Regions from separate parts of the Homo sapiens genome. Here region 1 is linked to region 2. The links are contacts of gene promoters, found by promoter capture Hi-C in blood cells and fetal thymus (Javierre and others, 2016). All regions are on one chromosome and are shown on one strand. Each heading gives the region's core, a stretch centred on a gene start or on the middle of the fragment in contact. The rest is flanking DNA. Distances are from core to core; before and after follow the strand shown. Region 1 overlaps LOC101927314 (a long non-coding RNA gene). Region 2 holds the start of NDUFAF4 (NADH:ubiquinone oxidoreductase complex assembly factor 4).

Region 1 (2,828 bases), core at 58-2,557, 540 kb after region 2:
ACTTTTATAGCATTACTGAGACTTTATTTTCTAGGAATATAAGGCTAAAATGAAATTTAAGTCATAATTCAATATGGTGAATATTTTAATTCTTGACAAAAATATAACTTTTCTGAGATATATTTATTTTATGAATGCACAAAAGAAATATATATATGAGTTAATGAAAGCTTCCAATTGACATTTTTAGACTGGAAGTTAACTGAGGCCAGCTAAACGTGTTAATTAGTTGACTGTCATTTTTAAATAGAGATTTACAATATGAGTTTGAACTTATTAATATTATGAATTTCATTGTTGTTTTCCTGTGAGCTGTATGAAACTCACCACAGTAGAGAGCTGGATGGTTTCAATATCTAATGACTGAACTTTTCACCTCAGGCCTTGGGTCACATTAGGCTTTGGTTTCAAGTGATTGACAGCCATTTCATAGTAACCTGAAATGAATTGGGGGTCAAAATCATCCAAATGATGGAGAGAAAATGCCCCCGTTAGAAAAAAATAAAGGCAGAAGTAAACTAACCAGTGTAGTTGAAACTAATTGGCCTCCTTATTGGCAAAGGATTGAACGGGCACAGGGACTGAATTAATCTCTTGAATTCGGTGGCAGATCCTTGCAGGTTGAAATTGTGAATTGGCAGGTTAGCATAAGGGGTGGCTGTATCCCCCTAGCATGTGATACTTCTGTTCTGTGAATTTCCATTTTGTGGAGCTGTCAATCTGAGGCTTTTGTGAGCATTAAACTTTCTTTAGAAACAACACCACTAAAAAAAGAATGACCCCACCTCCTAAACTACCACATAAATCAGCTTGATTAGTAATCTCTATTAAGAGACATTGAGTTTTGAATTGGCTGGGGTATTGTAGGTCCAGAATGAAGGACTTGGCAGGCCCAAATAGGGAAGTTTGAACATCTGCCCTACTCCGTCCTAGCACTTCTGCAAGTTTTAAGCCTATTCACAAATGGCCTAAATTATAAAAGTGCAAACTGTAGTTCTCCACAAGCAGTTTTTCAAATAACATTAAGGGGTGAATATATAATATTAGTATTTATTGAAGGTGTAGAAATTCCATAAAATATTTTATATTAAGGAGAAAGGTAACAGTAACAGACCTTTATATTTGAGCCCATTAATACCAGCTTTCTTTTAGCATTCTTCTTTTCTGTAACAAGTGAAGTTTGATCTTGAATTTTTATTCAAAGCTCTGTAAACCAAAGCCACAGATGGGGTATTGCTGTGTCATTTCCATGGCCTTATACAGATTACAGAATGTATGCAGCTGTCCCATACTCCCTTAATAGACCTTCAGCTTTTCAATACATCTTCCACTGATGGCATTTCTGTGGATAAACATCATTTCAGAATGAAATGTGCCAGATGTCCTGCAGTGCACTTAGGTACAACAAGGCACTTTTTAAAAAAGTCGCGCCTGTATTATTTACTCATTTAGAGAATGTGACTTCTGGAATATACATTGGAAATCCAAAATTTGCTGAATGAGAGAGGAAATATTATAAATAGTTTTTAACTCATATGTACCTTAAAATTCCCTTAAATACATTTTTTCTGGACCATAAAGAAATCAATGTTTTATATCCAGGTTTCTCATAATTTTTTCCTCTAGGAGGCATAACTCAATCAAAATCTCTGGTTACTACTGAATAGAAATAGTCCTTTTTATTGAGGTTAAAAATTGCTAGATCAGGGATTTGGAATATATATGTATGTCTATATATACACACATATATATAATGTTTCCTTTAGTATAGCTAATTTTATGAAGCATTCCTTTCAACATTCTTGAGTTTTATATTCCTGCCACAAGAAAATATTATTTTCAAGTTCTGTATTTTGTTATTGTTGTTGTTAAGAGACTGGAATAGGTGATCCAAATGAAAGTAAAACACCAGTGAGAAATGGCAATTCAGGATCATTCCAATATCAGCATTTGATTCTCTCATATCAGATGCAACTATACCACATGCTCAATTGAGTGCTTGACTGACTATTGACTTATGTCATTTAACATTTTTTTACATACATACCACTCTTCAAAGCCTGCAAATCATTGACTGCAAGGACCATATCTTCTGCCACTTAATATGCCTCGTTGCTGAACACAATGTGAGATTTTAGTCAGTGGCTGTTGAGTTGATGACTACGTTTATGGTAAACTAGAACAAGGAGATGTGTATTAAATTTTTCTATGAGGAAATCCATTTTCACTTATAAGTGCTTATAGATTATACCAAAGATATAGACTTCACTTAATTGCGATATCGCAAACTGTGGTAGCTTTAGTGTTCTTCAGCATGTTTTTTATGCATTTTTCATTTTTTAAAGAGTGAGATTTGTAGAGGCAGTCCACTAATAGCTGATAAAACTGAGGTACAGACCTTTAGATGGTCCACAACTAAAGGAGATGGTGCTAGGCTGTATTTTGAAGCTTCTGAGAATCCCTAGGAATTATTTAAAAGAGACACGTCCTTCAATATTGCATAAACTAATTATCTATGAACTGTTTATCCTAAGCAAAATAATAATAATAATAATAATAAATCATAATGAGAAAATGTTACTCCAGGAACGTTGACAATTATTTAAAATCTCACTATGTATTTAATTCAAAAAGTGTGATTCTTGAGGCTGTATACTTTTCTATGTGTGCACTCCCTAAGAAAACTAGCTGAAACTTTTAATGATTTATCAAATCACTTGATAATTTTATATATTGTCAATTTACCTCCTCTTCCTAACAGCAATGTTCCTCTTAACACAAAATATACTGCATTTAGAAAACTGAAACATATTTATCATTTGTCTTGC
Region 2 (2,700 bases), core at 51-2,550:
TTACACCAGTGTGCTTAAACTTTGCCAAGGCGTGTAGATTGATCACAACACACACTTGCAGAGCACTCTTTTTACTACTTGCCACACTTAATCATTTTCCTGAAGCCCCAAAATAAGTAAATTGTGTATTCACTTAATTAAACACACATTTACCTGCAAGGAAGACACAGGATCTTTGGAATCAACATACACATCTTTTAGAAACGACAGCAGCTTTTCATCTTTACGAGCAATCTCTCCTTTAACTTCTGGATAGACTAAGGAAAGGAAAAAAGTCACAATATTAAAATCAAGGAAAATTTCCTGTAATATCCTAAACGCTTAACACAAACGCTTTCTTTTATTTTCTTTTTTGAGTCGGAGTCTCGCTCTGTTGCCCAGACTGGAGTGCAGTCGCGCGATCTCGGCTCCCTGCAACCTCCGCCTCCCGGGTTCGAGAGATTCTCCCACCTCAGCCTCCCGACAAGCTGAGGCTACAGGCGCGCCACCACGCCCGGCTAATTTTTGCATTGTTTGTAGAGACGGGGTTTAGCCATGTTGGCCAGGCTGGTCTCGAACTCCTGACCTCAGGTGATCTGCCCGCCTCGGCCTCCCAAAGTGCTGAGATTACAGGCTTGAGCTACCGCGCCCGGCCTAACCACTTTAATTTTTTTAAAAAATAAACATAATCATTTGGACTGTTAGGAAAATACTTTAGATGGAAATCAAAATTCCAGGTCAGGCTCTGCGTCCATCGTCCAGTGAAGACCCCTAGAGAAAGCTCTGTGACCCTCTCGGATTTTGATTCCCTGTATCAAGTCCGTGACAGCAGCCGGCGAGGGCCTGGTTAGCGGGAGCACTGGCTGCTGCCTCTGGGTCTCGGAAGTAGGCGGGGCCGCCGACCTCACCGCGGGCGCGGAGGACAGTCTCAATGTCACCGGCCTGGCGGCTCCCCCTTCCAACGCTCCGCCAACCCGAGCGGCTGCGGCCGAGCAGGCTGACGCCGATCCCTCGGCCTCCGGACCCACGCTAGGGACAGCCGGGCAGCACAGGGACTCCGCGCCCCCGGGCCCCGAAACGCCCTCGCACCACTCACGACTAATCTGCTCTCGCAGGAGGCTGTTGGTAGAGGGGTGTCTGGGAGCGACAGAGGGCTTCATCTTGCTGATTTCCCGTTCCGCTCGGTTCTCTAGGTTGAAATTCCTGATACCGCGAATCACTAGTGCTCCCATCTCCTCATAACATTATGCGCTCAGGTTCAGGCCGCACGTGGGAACACCGGCGCAGGACAACTCCGGGACACCCGGAGCATGCGCACAAGTGAGGGGAAGCCCCGCCGCGGGCGCTTAAATGCGTGCCCGTCGCCCCCTAGCGCTCGGGAGGCCACACACCGCTTCTCTGCCCAGGGCATTTAAAAGGGAGCCCCTCCCTTCGGGGCGAGTGACGGCTCCCACGAGGGCCGCTTCCGGCGGGAGGTGGCGGGGCTTAAGTCCCCAGACCCACGGTTGCTTTTAACGCTGGAACTCCGAGGGAGTCACCCGGGAAGCTCTGTAAAGTTCTGTGCCGGGCCCTACCCCAGACTTTCTGATTTAATTCTTGTGGAGTGAGGCCCAGCATTGGATAAGACTCCACGTGATTCCAAAGTTTCAGTGAAGAGCTGAAAATCAAAGTCGTAAGGAAGTTGACCTTGAAGTTGTTTCACAGGGCAATGCCACCAAAGAGTTAGCCGATAAAAATGGAACTTACTGAACCAGGGTCAAACTGGGCTCTCAAGTTGCCCTTTCCTGCTTTTGTGAAAGGAAAATAATGAAAGGATGTTCCCTTTCGATGAGTATTTGTTCTCAGCCGCTCTCATTTAAATGCCTCTTATTTTCCTGTCCCCCCGCCTGATGCATTTTCAAGCCACTGTATTCTTTTTCCATTATTTTTTACATCCCGTTCTCATTTGACCTAATGGTATCGATTTTAGTTATACTTTCCCTTATCTTATTTTTGCTACTAATTTACTTCTCCATGCTACTAAATGCTGAGTCATTCCCTCTCCTATTTCTCTTCTCTCTTGCCTTCTTCATTCTTTTTAAGCCTCTGTGTAATTTAATGAAAGGAACAGACAATAAGACGTCAGAAAAAAAAAACAAACAAACAAAAAAACGAGTGTTACATTCACCTTCTCCGTCTCTCTCCATTTCCTGAATGGGTTACTGTAGTGCTGCTTTTATTTAAGACCCTTTAGAAATATTGTTATTAATCTAAAATAAAACCCACCAGGAAGGAAGCAGTAGGAAGGAAGTTACAGTATTTCTCTTACTGTGGCTGCAAAATCTATTTTTAGTGTTCTGATCTCTGCTTAGCAAAATGAAGTAGAGTGGATGTTTTTAACCAGCTTAAAGTAAGAAAATATTGATGTAAAGATAATCGAATAGAATAATAATAATAAAACAAGAATCAAAGAACCAAAATGAAGAAAGGGAAAGTTTTTTAAAAAGAAAACTAATGTAATCATTAAGTATAATGCTTAATCAGAGCAAAAGCACTGCAAGGAAGACGGCTTCAGCCACTCTAATTTAAATGCCCTTTATTTAATTATACTGAACATTTTTACAGGGATTGGTATTTGGAATTTATAGAAGCTGAAATCAGTGATCTCAGATAGCATTAACTGGGAAGTTATCCTGAAGGTGGCAGGCTGCTCCAAGATTTCTATCTTTGATACTTTTAAGC

Evidence for each region. The method cuts DNA at HindIII sites, captures the fragments that hold promoters and counts their contacts. A CHiCAGO score of 5 or more calls a contact.
Region 1: a fragment that was not itself captured here is called in contact with the fragment with the promoter of NDUFAF4 in region 2 in 1 of 17 cell types (endothelial precursors); the score reaches 5.2 in endothelial precursors.

The regions. Positions count from the first base shown.
Region 1 is chr6:97,437,818-97,440,645 of GRCh38, forward strand. The region is part of intron 1 of LOC101927314 (a long non-coding RNA gene); the gene reads left to right. Among named protein-coding and RNA genes, the nearest start is that of MMS22L, 160 kb to the left of the region's middle. The HindIII fragment of the contact is 2,278 bases long and covers 169-2,446 here.
Region 2 is chr6:96,896,591-96,899,290 of GRCh38, forward strand. NDUFAF4 (NADH:ubiquinone oxidoreductase complex assembly factor 4) reads right to left here and starts at 1,301. Exons shown (of 3, transcript NM_014165.4): 1 at 1,076-1,301; 2 at 154-257. The coding sequence starts at 1,211. It also overlaps a transcript of KLHL32 not described here. RefSeq lists an enhancer at 1,124-1,223. The HindIII fragment of the contact is 8,617 bases long and covers 1-2,700 here.